Linked DNA regions of Homo sapiens: all the other regions are linked to region 3. The links are contacts of gene promoters, found by promoter capture Hi-C in human tissues and cell types (Jung and others, 2019). All regions are on one chromosome and are shown on one strand. The core of a region is centred on a gene start or on the middle of the fragment in contact, and the rest is flanking DNA. Distances in the headings are between cores, read along the strand shown.

Region 1 (2,700 bases), core at 88-2,587, 98 kb before region 3:
TGCCAGTGAAGCTTTATCACCCAGCTGTGACTTTCTCACTTTTTAGACTTTTATTTTAAGTTCAGGGGTACATGTGCAGGTTTGTTATATAGGTAAACTTGTGTTATGGGGGTTCGTTGTACAGATGATTTCATCACCTAGGTACTAAGGCTGGTACCCATTAGTTATTTTTCCTGATCCTCTCCCTCCTCACCCTCCACCCTCCGATAGGCCCCAGTGTGTGTTGTTCCACACTATGCGTCCACGTGTTCTCACTAGTTAGCTCCCATTTATAAGTGAGAACATGCAGTGTTAGGATTTCTGTTCCTGTGTTAGTTTGCTAAGGATAATGGCCTCCAGCTCCATCCACGTTCTTGCAAAGGACATGATCTTGTTCTTTGATGACTGCGTAGTATTCCATGGTGTATATGTACCACGTTCTCTTTATCCAGTCTACCCTTGACAGCCATTTGTGTGGTTGATTCCTTGTCTTTGCTATTGTGAATAGTCCAGCTGTGACTTTCTTGAGAGCAGGATTCAGCATGATTCCTCTCGGTACCAGGCCAATGGCGTCAGAGTTGTCCCAGAGTGGGAACTGTCAGCCACCTCCAGGGCTTTGACAGTGCCTGTGCACACTGGTGACTGCCCATGCTTCCTGGGGCCATGGCCTCGTCTCCTTCTTCATTCTACAACAGTTGCCCAACTGGCCTCCTTGGTCTGCAATCTAGCCCCTTCCATTATTTTTCCTCTATGCTGCCAGGATAAAAACAGAGTGTATCTGTGTGTTCTCAAATGGGCTATACTATCATGAGCCCCTGTAACTGTCCAGCCTCATCTCTTGATCCTTTTCCCCACCCTGCCCACCACTACTCCACACTGCAGTCGAACTAAAGCCGAAACACATTGAGCTCTCTCACCTCCAATCTTTCATTTCTTCTTCACCCGCTTCCTGGAATCCACCGTCCCACCACCCCTGACCCTTGGTCTCACCCCCTCTGGTCTCTCAGGATGTCTGCCCCTCCGGCACGTGGCCTGCCTCCTGCAGTCCTCACACACCTCCCTGGGCTTCCTGCTTTCCTAATGCCATCATGCTAGTCTAGCTGTTTATGATGCTGCCTGCCCCAGAGCTCTGGAGTCTGTGAGCACAGGATCAAGTCCTTGGTTTTCCCTGTGTCCCAGCATCTGGCGTTGGCTTGGGTGGATGTTATGTGAATGGATGCATCTGCCATAGTCTCACGCAGCAAAGGGCGGGGCTCGGGCCTGTGTCCCCTTGGCCTCCTCCTTCTGCTGCAGCATCTGTGCCTGCACAGGCTCTGCCTACGGATTCTGGGAACAGCCTCCTGTCTCTGCAGAAAACAGCTCAAAGCCCTCCTCAGATTTCAGGTCCTCCCAGAAGGCTTCCCAGACGAGGTGGGCTGAATAAGGCTCCTCACCTCCCTCAAGCTTCCGGGATGAGAAATGCTCTTTCCTTCTCTGTCCCTCTAAGCCGACCAAATAAGAAAAATGTAGGGCCTAAAAATGGAAACCAACAAGTTGAACTTCACCATAGAAATGGAGTGAGTGAATATGTGTGTGGGTGTGAAAACTAAGCAGAACTTGAACCCACCATCTGGACATCTGTCCGGGGCCTCCAAGTCCTTCTACAACACACCAGGGAGAAAAGATGGTGCAGCCACAAGCTCTAAGACTTTTACGTGTCCTTGGGGAAGGAAGAAAGGCTTGTCACATTAATTTTTTCTCAACTCCCTACTCTGGAAAATTTCAAATATATTTAAACATTGGGAGAATAGTAAAATAAGCTATCGTGTACCCACCACCAGCTTCACCAATGATCAAGTTATTGCTCAGCAAATATAAATATCTATTCATTAGAGATTTAATGATTAATTTAAAACATTGATTGTATCAAATATTAACAGTGGATATTAATATTAAGTGTTAATATATTTAAATGTTATTTATAAATGTTAATTAATTCAATTATTTATTACAATAATATATACAATAAGGTTTAGAGTGCGTAACATTTATTAGGTTGATGCAAAAGTAATTGTGGTTTTTGCCACTGAAATTAATGCGTTCTTAACACATAGCAACATCTCCAGTCACCTGGACCCAGGCCCAGCTCAAGAACATTCATGTCAGAGGGACAGAAGAGGTAACCTTCCTCTGTGCTTGTGCTTCTATATAAGACAAGAATCTAGTAGCCCCCCATGGGATCGTCTAGTCGCTCCTTGGGTTTCATGAAACTCAAGAGGGGCCTACAAAGTAAATGGCATCTAAGTGTCAGCTGTTACTGGGACATTTTGGCTTTTGGAAAACCTGGGAACAAGAGTCAGCCAACGTGGGATCTTAACAGCTGTGTCATTGGCCATGTGCATAACCTGTCTGGGACTTCATAGTTTTTGGTTTAAAAAATGGAGTAAGACCTGTTTTAGGGACCACATGGATTTCTGAGAAAGAAGGAAGAAAGAGGTGTAGTTAGGCTTTTTTATTATTATTATTATACTTTAAGTTCTAGGGTACATATGCACAACGTGCAGGTTTGTTACATATGTATACCTGTGCCATGTTGGTGTGCTGCACCCATTAACTTGTCATTTACATTAGGTATATCTCTTAATGCGATTCCTCAAGAATCTACAACTAGAAATACCATTTGACCCAGCCATCCTATTACTGGGTATATACCCAAAGGATTCTAAATCATGCTGCTATAAA
Region 2 (2,700 bases), core at 18-2,517, 73 kb before region 3:
CCTCCTTGGTGGCTGTGGGGTCTGTCCAGTCCCCAGCTGTCTCATTGCCTTGACCTCAGTCCAGCCCATGTGCCATCCCACCACAGTCCCAGCTTCTGTCCCCGCCTGGCTCCCCTCACCCATCATGGGCTCTGCAGCCTCTAAAACATCACTTCTGTTCTGGACGCGGCCTTTGTCTATGAAGTTGCCTTCATGGTACTTTACATATTTTATTTTATTTTTAATTTCAATTTTTATTTTTTGAGATGGAGTCTCAGAAAATAGTCTCGCACTGTGACCTGGGCTGCAGTACAGCGGCGTGATCTCGGCTCACTGCAACCTCTGCCTCTCAGGTTCAAGAGATTCTCCTGCCTCAGCTCCCAAGTAGCTAGTATTGCAGGCACCCACCACCACACCTGGCTGATTTTTTTGTATTTTTAGTAGAGACGGGGTTTCACTATGTTGGCCAGGCTGGTCTCAAACTCCTGACCTCGTGATCTGCCTGCCTCAGCCTCCCAAAGTGCTGGGATTACAGGCGTGAGACACCATGCCCGGCCTACATATATGAAAATATTATTTGCTGACATTTAAAACCAAGGCCTTTCACATGCATATTCTGCTTTCCAGATTCTCTGGAAGAATCCGAGGCTCTGTGGGTGACAGGCTGCCTTTCCTCACAGGAAGCCGTCAGTGTGAGAAGGAGCTGCCCCTTCAGAAGGCGCTCCCCATCCAGTCCCCTGCTGGCTGCTTCCAGTCCCTCAGACACAGGCCTGCTTTGACACGCATCAGAGGCTTATGAATTCCATTCAGTGGATCACAGCCAGGATTTAAGAAAAAAATGAAATGGAATTAGATTGAACATATCAGGTTGACTATATTGCATGTAGCAAGGCTAAGTATTGCTTTCTGCAACTTTTAATTCAGATATTTCCATGGCCTCAGACATGTGTACTGAGTCGCGGTGTAAATCTATTTCTTACTCTGGGTCCTTAGCCTCTTGGTCTCTATCTCTTTAAAAGGCCTCCCAATCCCAAAGGAAGAAAAAGTGGGAGTGGGCAGGGGTGGTTGCCCACTGTTCTGGAAGACCTTAGAGATGAAGGGCTGCAGTGGCTTTGTCCAATAGCTTCCTGCCTCCATTCTCTGGTCTTATTCCTCTGGGGTTCCAATGAATAAAGGATTGTTTTCAAAAACGGAGGTCTGCTACACTCTGGAAGGGATCTCCACCAGTCTTCTCCGTTAGAGCAGTTTTACCCTGTGTACTCTCTTTAAACTCTTCCAGATGTTAATGGTCATTACTTGAAATAAGCCTTGTGCTCTGGCAAGTTTGGGCAGTGCTGGACTACATGAAATAAATGGGTTTCTTATCTGCAGGATTTCTCAGACACTCCAGGAGTTCTTGACATAGTGTTCTCTAGAAAATACTTTGGGAAATGCATGATTAGAGGTAAAACCTGGAGGTGCTTCAGAATTTGAAAGTTTAATTTAGGCTGGAATCTTGAAAGGAACCTGCAGAAAACTTGACTTTACTCCTTCCCACCTTACCCAGTGAATAATCCCTCATCATTGACGTCATTCACGAAATACACAGGCTATTTAGACATTGATTCTGCCCTCCACAAGCTAACAGTCTACAGTGCGTAAGATGGAGACACACATGACTGTAACACCTTGTCTCCAAGGGAAAGAAAGGTAAAGAGACAGGGTTCAGACACAGGGTTCCTGCCAGCCGAGGGGACTGGGCACTGAGAAGGAGGCAGGTGTCTTTGGGTTAGGCCTTGAAGGCCGTGTGAAATGAACACTCACGCAGAGGGGACGGGGTGGCATGGACACTCCAGGTGAGAAGGAGTGTTCTGGGGAATGTTTGGAAGAAGGTGAGCCTGAGACAAAAATAAAGGAACAGTGCTGGGGCCAACCTGCCTCTCAGAAGCAAACAGTTGGACTAATGCTTCAAGGGCACTGTATGGGTAGGAAACAAAGAAACACAGGAAGGCCAGATGTTGGGGTGCCTCAAATATGGGGCTGGAGGCTTCCACCTTCATGGTGTTGGGCAAAAGTCATGGAGGGATTTGGGGCCAGTGACAAGGGCTTCCTCAGTCTTTGACCACATGTATCCGGGCAGGGGAGTCACTGTCTCATGGCTGGATAAGCTTGTAGCCCTTTCTTCCAGTGAGCCCTATGGCTGCCACCCCGAGTCTTAGCTCTCTGTAACAAACAGCTGGGCAGGAGAACAGTGAGAACCGAGTCCTTGTCTGGTCTTTGAGATTTCCAGGGCGCTCTAGCAGCGGCACCTAGACACAGCCACCAGCCCACCGGGGGCGTTATCTCCAGGGCTGGCCAGCCAGGATGAGTAGAGCCTGTGACCCCTCTCCCCCTCCAGAATGCCTGGCGCTGTCCCTGACTTGGGGACCGTGTGGCTGTGTGTCTGTCCTCCCGTCAGCCACCAGAACAGTGTGGCCTTGGAGAAGCGCTTCATGTCGCCAGGCTGAGCAGATAACTTCCCAGGGCTGACGCGCTCTGCCTTTCAAAGGGGGCTTCTCTGTTGCAGAGCCAAAAAGCACAACACTTTTTCGGTCCAAGAGCAGAGCTCAGAAAAGTAGCTGTTGGGGGAAGTCGCCCAGCCTGAGCTCTGCGTCTTCCTCCGAAGCCTGGGGTGGAGGGAGGGAGGGATGTGCCGAGCCAGGACCAGATGGCTCCAGCTGGATTCGTCTCCCGGAAGAGAGG
Region 3 (2,700 bases), core at 30-2,529:
GGCCAGCACGTCCACAATGTTCATGAAGGACAGCGCGAAGTGCAGCTTGTTGGGTGACGAGAAGAGGCGCAGCAGGTACTCCAGGGTGAACCAGCCAATGCACGCCGTCTCCACGTTCTCCAGCGTCGGGTGCTCCACGCGGTTGCCCTCGGCGTCCAGCACCTGCAGCTCGGGGATGGTGCCCATGCACATGACCACGGACGAGACGAGGATGAGCAGGAAGGAGAGCACGGCCACCACCCGCGCCGGGCACGACGACTCGGGCTTCTCCAGGAACTTCCAGACGCACTTCTGGCAGCGGCGCCAGCGGCCCTCGGCTGCGTCCACGCCCAGGTCGTCCAGGATGAGCTGCACGCGGCGCGCGATCTCCTCCAGCTCCTCGCGCTTCTCGCTCAGGTGGCTCTTGCAACAGTCGTCCAGGAACTTGAGGTCCACCTTCCAGAAGTCCATCTCGTTCTTGAAGCAGATGGGGCAGATGCCCTTCTTCATGTGGACCTCCCCGAAATAGTACACCTCGATGACACACTTGAAGGCGTCCGGGTCCCTGTCAAAGTAGAACTCGCGCTTGCCGGGGTCGTAGTCGTCGCACAGGGAGAAGATGGTGTCGTAGCCCCCAGCCAAGCAGTTGATGAGCTCCGCCAGCCGGGTCTCAGGGTACTGACTGAGGAGGTCCCCGTACAGCACCTGCCGCACGCCCCCCACGTTGACGACTATCTCTATGTCGTCGCTGGCAGCGGAGCTCTGGCTGCCCGGCTCCGGGAGGCTGCGCTCCCCGGACCCGTCCATCCTCCCCGCGCGCGCCCTCGCAGCCTCCGCCCCGCGCCCCCTGCAGCCGCCGCCGCCGCTGCCGCTGGGGGTCCGGCGGGTGCCACCCGTGCGCTGATCTCGGGGAGAGCCTGGCCGGCGCCCGCCTGCGGGGAAGGGCGGTCACAGCGGGCAGCAGCCTGCGGGGGCGCGCCGCGGGGGAGGCATGCACCCGGCGGCGGGGCTCGGGGCTGGCATCCGGGCGCCCGGGCGAGCCCGCGGGGGCTTTGGCGGCCGCCGGCCTCGCCCGGGGCACTCACCCCGGCTGGCTGGCGGCGCGCTCCGCCGCTTCAGCTCGGCCTCCTGCGGGAGCGGGGTCTCCTCGTGGGCGGCTGGCACCGTCCTCCGCCCCGGGGCGCGCAGGCAGCGGCGGCAGGTCCCGGAGCTGGCGGACCCACGCCGTCCGCGAGGTGCTCGAGGTGTGCAGAGAGCGAACTTGGGCTGGCTTTGCCCGAGCCTTTTCTAAACACAATAGGAATTCCAGCCTGACGTCAGGAGCTTTTCAAACTGTACCCTCTTCTGGTGAAATTCTGCAAGGCACGCGCGGCAGCTGCAGGGGACGGATTAACCCTTGGGCAGACGGGCACAGCTGCCGCGCCCGCCGCCACCACCGCGCACCGCCGGCCCCTCCTCGGGCGCAGCGGGTCACCGAGGGGTTGCGACCTGGCTTGAAGCGGCAGGCATTCTCTCTCACTGCTGTTTGGAGAGGATTAGTGGGGAGAGAATGCTGCCGCCTGTTGCTGGGCAGGAAAATGTGCTCCAGGAAGCCCCTTAGAAGGTGACTCCTATGTCTGGGTCCCTCCTCCGGCCTTAGACCCGCGCCGGCTTTTCCTGGTGGGAGGAAAATCCTGCCTGATCCTTGAAGCGTTTCCTGCCCCATCCCCCCGACCCAGCAATGCCCTGCTGTGTTGGTGGCACTGTCTCACCTTCCCCGCAACGCTGTACAAGGAGGACATCTAGTCCAGCCTCCTGTAGAAGGGAAGGGACTTGCCCAAGGTCACGCGGCGGAATGAGAGCAGAGCTCAGCTTGACCGCCTCCTGATCCCGAGCTTTCCGGCTGTCCCAGCTGACCGACGCCTGCTGTTCAGCAGATTTCAATTCTGCCTTGAAGTCCCTGCCGTCTGGCACCTCCTATCTCTCTGCAGTCCCACACCAAGGCCACTAGCTTCCAGACCCCTAGGGTCCAGTGGCTCCTGCTTCCCCGTTCCTCACTCCTTGACCAAGGCCTGTCTCTTCCTGACCAGTGTCCCACACCCTCCTCTCTTCCAGCCTTTGCAGCCACAGCTGTCCTTCTGTCCTCACTCACCTGAACCACTACAGCAGCTTCCTAACAGTGTCTCTCTCCTCCGGTTCACCACTATCATCAATACTGCAAATTACTGATATCATCTATGGCCTCGAGATCGTGTTAAAAATATTCTGGAGGGAAGAATGAATAGGCAGAGCAGAGGATTTTTAGGGCAGTGAAACGTACCATAATGGCGGATATGTGTCGTTATGCAATGGTCAAAATCCATAGAATGTTCACCACCAGGAGCGAATGTTAATGCAAACTCGGTGCTGGGCGATGATGACGTGTCCATGTGGGGTGGTCCACCATGACAAGTGTCCCACCCTGTGTGAGATGTTGATGCGCAGGGGAGAGCTGTGGAGACAGGGGGCATGTGGGAATTCTCTGTACTTTCTGTTGAATTGTGCTCTAAAATATAAAGTCTATTTAAAAATGTATTCTGTAGGCTGGGTTTTTTAAAACTTAAGGACATGTCCGTTAATGGATTATGAAATCAATTTACTGGGTCACTGACAGTATTCTTTTTTCTTTAATGAGTTAGCATAAAACAGAATATATTAGAATACATCACATGAAGTATTATTTAGTGAAACTTCGTTTTACAA

Evidence for each region. The method cuts DNA at HindIII sites, captures the fragments that hold promoters and counts their contacts. A contact is called where the count stands out against the background at its distance.
Region 1: a fragment that was not itself captured here is called in contact with the fragment with the promoter of KCNF1 in region 3 in 2 of the 25 tissues and cell types used here (dorsolateral prefrontal cortex and hippocampus).
Region 2: a contact is called between a fragment that was not itself captured here and the fragment with the promoter of KCNF1 in region 3, in 5 of the 25 tissues and cell types used here (IMR-90 fibroblasts, aorta, hippocampus and 2 more).

Annotation. Positions count from the first base shown.
Region 1 is chr2:11,008,615-11,011,314 of GRCh38, reverse strand. No RefSeq gene overlaps it. Among named protein-coding and RNA genes, the nearest start is that of KCNF1, 98 kb to the right of the region's middle. The HindIII fragment of the contact is 3,995 bases long and covers 1-2,700 here.
Region 2 is chr2:10,983,474-10,986,173 of GRCh38, reverse strand. No RefSeq gene overlaps it. Among named protein-coding and RNA genes, the nearest start is that of KCNF1, 73 kb to the right of the region's middle. The HindIII fragment of the contact is 5,936 bases long and covers 1-2,700 here.
Region 3 is chr2:10,910,513-10,913,212 of GRCh38, reverse strand. It overlaps KCNF1 (potassium voltage-gated channel modifier subfamily F member 1), which reads right to left and starts at 1,279. Exons shown (of 1, transcript NM_002236.5): 1 at 1-1,279. The coding sequence starts at 786. The HindIII fragment of the contact is 13,350 bases long and covers 1-2,700 here.